Linked DNA regions of Homo sapiens: regions 1 and 3 are each linked to region 2. Evidence: promoter capture Hi-C in 16 types of primary human blood cells and fetal thymus (Javierre and others, 2016). All regions are on one chromosome and are shown on one strand. The core of a region is centred on a gene start or on the middle of the fragment in contact, and the rest is flanking DNA. Distances in the headings are between cores, read along the strand shown. Region 1 overlaps MICAL3 (microtubule associated monooxygenase, calponin and LIM domain containing 3). Region 2 holds the start of PEX26 (peroxisomal biogenesis factor 26). Region 3 overlaps MICAL3 (microtubule associated monooxygenase, calponin and LIM domain containing 3).

Region 1 (3,369 bases), core at 1-2,500, 83 kb before region 2:
TGGGGCAATAATGGATCTGCTTGGGTTCCACAACTTGGGAATCAGAAGGAAGAGAAGGGCTTCTTCATCTTTTCCAGGAGCAGGGCAGCCCTCAGCACTCTCTGGATTCCCAAGGCACAGCCCCCAGGTTCCTGAACACACAGTGTCTTAAGTGCCCCCCGGGAAGCCCCCCTGCGCCCACACTCTCCTCCCAGTGCTTCAGAATTACCTCCTGACTCTGCCCCCTGAGAAGCAGGCCAGGAATATTTCAAGGAATATGCCAACTAACCTCAATGCACCTCTCCTGGCACTTCAGAGAGAGAACTCAAGAGTGAAGAGAGGGAAATATGGAGGAGGGGTCTGAAGACAGGAAGCGGTGACCCCCCAGGACGGAGGTAACCCCGTGGAATATGCCCAAGTCAGTTGCCCTCAACTGGTCTGTGACACCACAAGTCCAAAACCCAATGCCTTCATCTAAATCCTGACGCCACCACTTGTTTTAGCCCTCTGTGCCCCACTTCCTAGTGTGAAAAGCAGGGATCATAACAGCACCCCGTCTGTCCGCTGTGGTGAGGACTGAGCGCGTTAAGACACGTGGGCACTCAGGACAGTGTGGCATGGCCAACAGTCTCTAAGCATCTCTGATGCTGCCATCGCTGCTGTGCTCATCAGCGCCAGGTGCTGCTCTCCCACCCCTGTCCCTGTCCCATCACAGCCTGACAATTCTCAGCCACAACAAGGAGCTTTGTTGGTGGAGGAGGGAGGAATATGGCTAGAACCTCTGTAAGCTGACTTTCTGTGGGCTGGGGACAGTCCACGCTAAAGGGTAGCTGCCATTCCCCTGGGGGCTCCAGGTGCCAGGAGTGAGCACTCTGCATCTTCCCCCTGACCAAGCTGCTCCTCCTCTCTTGGCTTCCAACACTGGCACTGGCCTCCCGGGACCCATGCTACCTCCAGACTTCAACTGGCAACAGAAAAGAGACAGAGGGCTGGGTGCAGTGGGGTGCCTGTAATCCCAGCACTTTGCAGGGATCACCTGAGCCCAGCAGTTCAAGACCAGACTGGGCAACACAGAGAGAGCTTGTCTCTCCACAAAATTTAAAAATTAGTCGGGTGTGGTGGTGTGGGCCTGTAGTCCCAGCTACTCAGGAGGCTGAGGTTGGGGGATGGCCTGGCCCAGGAGGTCAAGGCTGCAGTGAGCCGAGATCATGCCACTCCAGCTGGGGCCACTCCAGCCGGGGCCACAGAGTAAGACTCTGTCTCAAAAAAAAAAAAGAAAAAAAAAGAAGCATGGGCAGGAGAGAAGAGAAGCCTGGGACCCACTAAGGTTTATTTCGCCTTTACACAGGAAAAGTCAATAAAAGCCACTAGTTAACCACAAGGCTGTGCTGTCCATCCCTCTCCTGCCAGAGTTAACCAGACCGAATCTCCTGCCAGAGTTAACCAGACTGAATCCTTCAACAGATATACAATTCAACAGACACCTGCAGACGTGCCTAATGCAGGAAGACTCCTCACTAGATTCCCTCACACATAACACACATGCACTCTGAGCTGGGCGCTAGAGAGACACGGCCTAACAGAACACGAAAAAGATACTGTTGTCCTTGCCAAGGTCCTCACTACTTAGCAGAAGCTCTTGCCCTTCCGCTTCCACCTTTCATCAAGGTATAAGCCAACAGTCTCACTTCTTCTCTCTTCTTTAATCTGATTTCTGTCCTCCCTTTTTCTTTTAAGAGACAGGGTCTCACTCTGTCACCCAGACTGGAATGCAGTGGTGTGATTATAGCTCACTGCAGCCTCAAACTCCTGGCCTCAAGTGATCCTCCCACCTCAGCCTTCTGAGCAGCTGCGACTATAGGTGTACACCACCATGCCCGGCTAATTTTTAAAATTTTTGTAGAGACAGGGTCTCACTATGTTGCGCAGGCTGGTCTCAAACTCCTGGCCTCAAGCAATACTCCTACCTTGGCCCAGCCTCTCAAAGTGCTGGGATTACAGACGTGAGACATTGCACCCAGCCTTTTCTTTAATTTTTTTTTTTTTTTTTTTTTTTTTTTTTGGGACAGTAGGGTCTTGCTCTATCACCAAGGCTGGAATGCAGTGGTGCGATCTCCGCTCACTGCAGCCTTGGCCTCCCAGGCTCAAATGATCCACCTACCTCATCCTCCTGAGTAGCTGGGAATACAAGTGTGCAACACCCACACCTGGCTATTTTTTGTATTTTTTTTGTAGAGACAGAGTTTCACCATGTTGGCCAGGCTGGTCTGGAACTCCTCACCTCAGGTGATCTGCCCACCTCGGCCTCTCAAAGGGCTGGGATTACAGGCATGACCCACCACACCTGGCCTCTTTTCTTTTTTAAAACTGCGGCAATCATCTCTCCTCTGTTGAACTCACCAATGAGAAAAAGTCAATGGGGCCAGGCATGGTGGCTCACACCTGTAATCCCAGCACTTTGAGAGGCTGAGGCAGGCAAATTGTTCGAGCCCAGGAGCTCTAGACCAGCCTGGACAATGTGGCAAAACCCCATCTCTACAAAAAATTTTAAAAATTAGCCAGGCTTGGTGGTGCACGCCTGTAGTCTCAACTACTCAGGCAGTCAAGGTTGCAGTGAACCATGATCGCACCACTGCACTCCAGCCTAGGTGGCAGAGTGAGATGCTGTCTCAATTTAAAAAAAAAAAAAAAAAAAAAAAGGCTGGGCACAGTGGCTCACACCTGTAATCCCAACACTTTGGGAGGCCGAGGCCAGTGGATCACAAGGTCAGGAGATCGAGACCATCCTGGCTAACACGGTGAAACCTTGTCTCTACTAAAAAAAAAATACAGAAAATTAGCCGGGCATGGTGGCAGGTGCCTGTAGTCCCAGCTACTCGGGAGGCTGAGGCAGGAGAATGGTGTGAACCCGGGAGGCGGAGCTTGCAGTGAGCCGAGGTCGTGCCACTGCACTCCAGCCTGGCCCACAGAGCAAGACTCCATCTCAGAAAAAAAAAAAAAAATGCAATCAACTGCAAGGCTTGGGGTGACAGTTTCCTGGTCATTCTTCCCAGTTTTTTTGTGTCTTTATAGCTAGAGATGACTAAAGCCCACCTCCAAGAAAACAGCAAGTCACGTACAACTGAAGCCCATGGGGGCAGGATGCTGTTCTCTCCACCGGGGCAATCCAAGCACCTGAGTGTCTGACACCACCCATCACCCAGGGGATCCGAGCTGAATTCTAAAGACTGGAACCAAAGATGACAGAGTGCGTGGCTGGAGAGAGGGGGAAGTCCACAGAGTTTAGGTAAATTTCTGAACCACATCCCCACCACGCCCACAATGTACTGCATTGAAGTACACCGGAAGCTAAAGACCAAAAAGGAATCAGATTTTCAGCTCTGCCACCTA
Region 2 (3,483 bases), core at 916-3,415:
AGCTCCAACTTAGAGACAGAAGTTTGGCTAAGTAAAGACAATACGCATTTATGTTCCCCCAGAGGGAATGAATTCGCTTCTGTTTAGGATTTCTGTGTCTTCGCTTGAGAAAGTCTAAGTACTTGTAGACATAGAGGAGATGATGTGTCCCACTGGATGTGTGTTGAGGAATCCATTTGTGGGCATAATAGTGCTAAACAGTGGTTACATACGGACTGATATGAAGCCCGGGAATAGTTGAAAATTGGGTGAATCAGAAATGGAATACAATCATATTTTTATATGGTTTCTAGCTCTCCTCTCTCCTGCCTTAAATATCTTGACCTCATTCTGGCTGTCTCACTACTAAATAGGCAAATTTACTTTTAGCAAGGCTGCTTCTGTTAAGACTGTGCCTCCATCTCCTGGACAAATTTGGAATAGCAAGAAATTTGTTAGGAAAGGGACTTTTCCAGGCAGCAGCCGCTTAGAGCTGGCCGCTTCTGAGCATGTTCGTCTTCCCAGGCCTGGCTCACATTTTCAGTGCTTAATGCGCATGGCGCTTTATGCGCAATATTACTTAATTCTTCCCTCAGCCATTGGGAGCTAAGGACAAACTGTTATCCCAATTTTACAGGTGAGGAAATCAGAGCTTATTTAAATAAATTGCCGAGGTCACACAACTAGTAAGCGACAAAATCTCAGTCAAACCGAGGCTCTTTTGGTTCAAAGATGTGTATTGAGCTCTACTCTGCTCTGCAGGGACAGAACTAAGTATGTTTGCTATTCAGGGGATACACAGTCATTCCATGAGCAAGTTACACAATGTAAAATAAGGACATTGTGAAAAACAAAACCATACCGTACATAATGCACTTTATAGTAAAGTACTGGGAACAGAGTATTTGGTAAATTGTAACTATAATAATAATTTTAAACAGATCCACAAATCACACTTATTATTATATTCTGTTTCACCCGGGCTTTGCCAAGCTTCCCACATTTGTACTAGATCCTCTTGGCTTTAGTTTCTCCCCAGTTCTCTACCCTTTGAATTCACTCCAAAGCTTCCCTAGAATCTTTGCTCTCCTAGAAATTAGATTAAACAGGCACCTGCTCACATCATACATCCCCTGCCCTTGTCACCAGACATGCACACATCCATCTTCTGGGATTTCCGTTCTCTTGCAGAAAAGTCTGCATGGGAAGCTGAGGCAGAACCAAGTCCACCAGACTCCGAGGAAAGAGAAGTCTGGACCCTGTAACCAGATAAAAGTGAAACCAGGACTTCATTTATTCCACAAATACTTTTTGACTACCTATAGATGACAGGCACTGTTCAAGGCATTGAGGTTCCCACAGTGAACAAAAGAGACAAAAACGTCTGCCTTTGTGAGTTTATATCATAGTGGAAGGAAATAGACAATAAAAATAAGTAAAATATAGACATTGGTATGTAGATGGTGATAAATGATAAGGAGAAATATAAAGACAGATCGGAAGTGACAACAGTGGGGAAGTGGAATTGGTATCTGCATTTAACGTTGTTTTTTAACAGCAAATTCAGGATGGGGCAGAGAGCAGTGAGAAAAATGAGGCCCTTATGCTCAGCGCCCCCAACCCCGCCTCGGTGGGGTCACTATTCATTTTGGAACATTGCCCTTGGGACCAACATATTCTCAGTGGTCCTTGTGAAGGTTTCCACCCTAAGTCCCTCATCCTCACCAGGCAATATTCATTACCCTACAGCAAACTCCGGAGGCAACGCGGAGAAAGTGTGAATCAATTCAAGACTAAGGTTGCCAAAATGTTTGATCAGCTCTGCGTCAGCCTTGACATTACATTACATTACAGATCCCCTGATCGCCACCGTCGCAGAAGCTCTGAATTAAAAGCGTGCATGTAGCTGCACATCCATTGCTGGCACTTCTTCCGTTAGCCTCCGCTGGAACTGGTTAGTGAGGACCCCTCCATTTCACAAGACAGCTTCGGTTTTGCTTCGTTTTGACTTCCGCACCCCGAAGCTGTAGCACCAGTTTGTTTTCTCACGGCACAGGGGCGGCTTCCGGGGCGCGGCGTGCTGGGGGTTGTAGTCCGCGCTCTGCCTCCTACTTCCATTACAGAAGGCGATGGGCCGAGAGCTGAGGAACTACAACTCCTAGAGTACTCCGCGCCGCCGGGACGCCGCGCGGCTGCGGGGCTGGGCGAGCGCAAAGATGTCCGCGCCCGCTGCCGGGAGGCGAGGTGAGTCTTTGATCGTAACCAGGAGCCCGGAGCTGAGGCAGTTCCTGCACGTGTCGCGGGGCCGGAGAAGCTAGGGCCAGGTATTCCAGGGATGCAAGAATCCTGCAAATCTGACGTGTAAACTGCTTCCCCAGCCTCCAGGCGAGCCCAGCTTTTGCCTCAGATAGGCCCCTTCCTTTTCCTTCTCGGGGAATCGACCTCGGGAAGGGGTGTGGGCAAAGAGATGAGGACTCTCCCTCTTCGCCCAGGCCAACTCGGGATATCCCGGAGCCTCTGGGGAGGCGGTCACTCCGACGTCTGAGGACCTGGGCCTTGGACCCGGACTCGTTATGAAGAGCGATTCTTCGACCTCTGCAGCCCCCCTCAGGGGGCTCGGGGGACCCCTGCGCAGCAGCGAGCCGGTGCGCGCGGTCCCGGCCCGGGCGCCGGCCGTGGACCTTCTGGAGGAGGCGGCCGACCTCCTGGTGGTGCACCTGGACTTCCGGGCGGCGCTGGAGACCTGCGAGCGGGCCTGGCAGAGTCTGGCCAACCACGCCGTGGCAGAGGAACCCGCGGGCACGTACGTGCTGGGCTCGGAAATGAACCGATTTCCGGGCGCTCTTGTGGTGGGGCTCAAGGTCTCAGGAGTTCTGTCCTTCCCAGATTGCCCACAAGGAGCTTTACACCTCGCTTTCATCAGTGGTTTGTCTCCGAGAGGGTGGTCGCTCATCGTGTGCCCATTCTACAGAGAAGGGAAGTCGTGTAACAAAAACTTAGTGGGGATCCCACAGCCAATTATTTGCTCCTTGTTCCAAGGTACAATGACATGATGGGAAGGCTGAATGTGTATTAAGTGCTAAGTTCTGTCAGTAAGCAGGTGGTAAAAGTCCTCTCCCAGGTACCTCCGCCCTCCCCGCCCCGCCCAAGGTTGTTTATTCCTGACCTTGGCTGATGATGGGGAATGGGGGTCATGGCAGGAGCAGCGTTCTGGTCCAATTAGAGGACTGGATTAAAGAATTAATTCAGGGCCGGGAGCTGGGGCTTACGCCTGTAATCCCAGCACTTTGGGAGGCCGAGGCAGGAGGATTGCTTGAGCCCAGGAGTTCGAGACCAGCCTGGGTAACATAATGAGCCCTCTTCTCTACCAAAAAGAAGAAAAAGAAAAGAATCCGGAGAAAAAAACCTTGGGCTTGCATTGCTCTTTCTAATGCCACCAGCCTCGTCTGGCAGGTGAGGGAGTCATTTCTTTGCATTGTAAACTTGGGTTAGGCCACGCTAGGG
Region 3 (3,651 bases), core at 997-3,496, 110 kb before region 2:
GGATGTTCGTGGTCTGCCCCAGGGCCCACTGGTCCTTGAGTGAGCGGCTGACCAGCTGCAGGGCCATGATCAGAGGATCTTCGTGATCTGCCGCAGGGCCCACTGGTTGGAGGCCCCTTTGGGAGTCAGATAACAGAACTCTGCAGTCACGGCTGTGACCGACTCACTATGTGGCAGATGGGCTTCTGTGCTTTTTAGTTCTCACTTCCTGAGAAGTGTCAGGTTTCAGCACTAATATCATGTATACATTTTAAAAAATCCAAAATCAGAAGCAGAATTTAGTAATTCCCCACCACTTCCTATGTTCCCTCCTCTAACACCTGTAATATTCCTGGCACACAGTAGGTGCCTTAAACAGGTCCTTGAATTGGGGTTGGTGAGAAAAGGTGCTAAGTCTGTCTTTCCAAGCCATTTAATTGAGCAGCATTTTTTTTTAATGTGGAAAATTTTTTTATCTGTTACGTCTTTCCTATTATATTTATCTTGTCCTTGATTTCAGCACCCCACCCGATTTGCAGGCAGTGCTTTCTAAACTGTGCCCTGTGAGCTGTTAAAAAGTCTTCTGGAGGCCGGGCATAGTGGCACACACCTGTGATCCCAGCATTTTGGGAGGTCGAAGTGGGCAGATTGCTTGAGCTCAGGAGTTCGAGACCAGCCTGGGAAACACGGCAAAACCCCGCCTCTGCCAAAAAAATTAGCTGGGCACAGTGACATATGCCTGTAAGTCCCAGCTACTCAGGTGGCTGAGGTGGGAAGACCACTTGAGCCCCAGAGGCGGAGGTCGCAGTGAGCTGAGATTGCACCACTGCACTCCAGCTTGGGCAACAGAGCAAGACCCCGTGTCAGAAAAAAAGGGGGGGGCTGGGCGCTCATGCCTTCAATCCCAGCACTTTGGGAGACTGAGGCAGGCAGATCACTTGAGGTCAGGAGTTTGAGACCAGCCTGGCCAACATGGTGAAACCCCATCTCTACTAAAATACAAAAAATTAGCTGGGCATGGTGTTGTGTGTCTGTAATCCCAGCTACTTGGGAGGCTGAGGCCTCCTCAGCCTCAGCAGGAGAATCGCTTGAACCCGGGAGGCGGAGGTTGCAGTGAGCTATCGCACCATTGCACTCCAGCCTGGGCGACAGTGCAAGACTCCATGTCAAAACAAACAAACAAAAAACCTCATCATTCATCTAGCATTGACTGCATTCATCTAGCATTCATCTAGCATTCATCTAGCATACATCTAGCATTCATCTAGCATACACAGGCACCAGACACTGTGTTGGGGCTAAGCACAGAATGTGAACAGAACTCCTATGTCTCCTGTGCCCCAGAGATGGAAGGACAGTGGTGGACACAGCCATCGGTGTAAAAACGTCAATATATAGATACATCCATACTTACACACTGTGAGAAAAAGAACAGCAGAACCTAAGACAGAACATCGGAAGGGGCCCCCTGGCCCTTCAGGTGGTAATGAAGAGGTATCCAGCCCGACCCGGGAGGGAGGATGCCCAGGGAAAGGAGGAGCTTGCTCCAGGGGCAGAAGCAGCACACGTGCACCGGCACAGGCGACAATGCACATGGCCTTCCAGGACCACCGGCCAGTGGGCTCAGGGCTCAGTGAGAGAGGAAGAGGAGGATGGCAAGGCAGGCAGGCCACTCCACACAAGGCCAGGCAAGGCCTCTTAACGAATCTGGATGCAAGGACCTTGCTTTTTCCTACATCTTTCATTGTTCCCAAGCCCAGTGCGCTCCTCAAGGCAAACACTAAGAACACATGCTCAGTTCAGCAAATCAGTTACAAACCAGTGGCTATTTAATAAGCAAGGTACTGTTAAAATCTTGGCCCTCAAATTTTATAATTTGGTTTGTAGAAAAAAGGAACCAGACCATCCCATCTCAAACAAAAAACAAAAAAATCTTGAGACAAGAAAATATATATCCTGAGGCAGTATCTGATTAAACACCAGATGAAATGTTCAAGTCACATGGTCCACTGGAAGGGGAAATAATTCCCAGGTAAGGTGGTGACAACGGGTTTCCCAAAGAGGGTGGGACTCCAAGTAGAAACTGAAATCTGGAGCGAACCAGGCTAAGCTACCTGGGAGGGTGGACCAGGCACACGCAACAGGTGAACGGACGTACGGGAGTAGGGACAGCAAGGCACATCGGGGAGGGGTAAGCACACAGAAAGGTTGAGCCCGCCTACAACACACAACAGCCCATCCCGGGCAGCTCACCCCCATCTTCAGGGCCTTGGAGGCAGAAGGAAGATTCCCACAGGTCAGGGTCCGGGGCTGGTCTCCTGGCAGGCACACTTTGGGGCAGCAGGAGAAGGAAGGTGAGTAAGACTGTCTGCCCCAGGAAAAAGGGCAAGGGCAGAGAGCTATGGATCTCATTCACTGGGATAAAAAATTAAGTGCCAAGGAGGGAGAGGAAAGGGAGGAAAAATAATCCAAATTGTTGTAGTATTGTGCAACTGAAATTCCATGCATAAGCCAGGAAATTCAAAGGTCACAGTTCCCACAGCAACTGTAACCTGACCCGTCAGCTTAAGTAGCCTTTGGCACTGCCAGCCCCCAAGCGCCTGCAGCCCCTACAATGCCCACCCAGACCTGCCCTCAGGCCCCTGCACGTCAGGCATGTTGCGCCTTGCCCAGCCGGGCCCACGTGGGCTGCCCACCTCTGGCTACAAGGGGCCCTCAGCCATGCCCAATAGTTCTCAGTTCTTTAAGGAGCATCCTGTGACTCCGAGCCTACTTGCTGTGGGTCTTTACTTCTGACTCTTCTGTGGGGTGAGTAAGCCTCCTTCACCACCCAGATGGGGGGAAAAGGGAGAAGAGAGGTGTGTGCATGCAGACAGAGGCGCTGCTACCACCCTCTTCACTCATGCCCTGTGGCATCAACACTTGCCAAGCCTCACCATGGGGAAAACAAAGGTGGGGGGAGCCTGGGGAGGGAATGTTGTAGTTCAAAGGACATCAGAAAAGACGGCTTACCAAATGGGAGAAACTTTCTACCAGTCTGAAATCTGATAAGAGACTTACTTCTGTAGGGTATGTAACTGAGCATATGATCCTTCCCAACAGGGCCTGGGACACCGGCTTGATCATCATGAGGCCCAGGACGGAGCCACACATAGGTCATGATAGTGGAAGCAGCACAGGGTGTGAAGCTGATGGCCACAACCGACCCCTTCCAGCCCCACTGTGGAACCGGGGTGGCAGTTCAGAGTTTGGGTGTCTGCTGTGTGCAGAAGGGAGACCAATCAGAGCCAGGCTTAGACGCAGGCAAATCATGGGCCCTTTCGAAAAGACAGGCTGGCCAAGTGCGATGGCTCACACCTGAAATCCCTGCACTTTGGAAGGTCGAGGCAGGAAGATGAGTTGAGCCCGGGAGTTTGACACCAGCCTGGGCAACACGGTGAGACGCCGTCTCTACAAAAAATTAGCCAGGCATGGTGGCACGCACTTGTGGTCCCAGCTACTGGGGAGGCTGAGGTGGGAGGATCATTTGCACCTGGGAGGTCGAGGCTGCAGTAAGCTGTGGTCGCACCACTGCACTCCAGCAACACAGTGAGATGCTGTCTCAAAAGAGATTAAATTTAAAAATGTTTAAGATACATAAATAAAAAACAAGTCCCCTGAGCTCCTCCTCCT

The links. The method cuts DNA at HindIII sites, captures the fragments that hold promoters and counts their contacts. A CHiCAGO score of 5 or more calls a contact.
Region 1: a contact is called between a fragment that was not itself captured here and the fragment with the promoter of PEX26 in region 2, in 2 of 17 cell types (total B cells and naive B cells). The highest score is 9.7, in total B cells.
Region 3: a contact is called between a fragment that was not itself captured here and the fragment with the promoter of PEX26 in region 2, in 1 of 17 cell types (total B cells). The highest score is 5.2, in total B cells.

The regions. Positions count from the first base shown.
Region 1 is chr22:17,993,480-17,996,848 of GRCh38, forward strand. The region is part of intron 1 of MICAL3 (microtubule associated monooxygenase, calponin and LIM domain containing 3); the gene reads right to left. Among named protein-coding and RNA genes, the nearest start is that of MIR648, 14 kb to the left of the region's middle. RefSeq lists enhancers at 369-869, 870-1,370, 2,962-3,161. The HindIII fragment of the contact is 7,510 bases long and covers 1-3,369 here.
Region 2 is chr22:18,075,825-18,079,307 of GRCh38, forward strand. PEX26 (peroxisomal biogenesis factor 26) reads left to right here and starts at 2,166. Exons shown (of 5, transcript NM_001127649.3): 1 at 2,166-2,782. The coding sequence starts at 2,553. It overlaps LOC105372853 (a long non-coding RNA gene), which reads left to right. Exons shown (of 6, transcript XR_001755424.2): 6 at 1,834-2,072. RefSeq lists enhancers at 1,840-1,899, 2,230-2,459, 2,940-2,989 and a silencer at 2,530-2,579. The HindIII fragment of the contact is 13,258 bases long and covers 1,045-3,483 here.
Region 3 is chr22:17,970,333-17,973,983 of GRCh38, forward strand. All of the region lies in intron 1 of MICAL3 (microtubule associated monooxygenase, calponin and LIM domain containing 3), which reads right to left. Among named protein-coding and RNA genes, the nearest start is that of MIR648, 8.8 kb to the right of the region's middle. RefSeq lists an enhancer at 3,263-3,651. The HindIII fragment of the contact is 8,182 bases long and covers 1-3,651 here.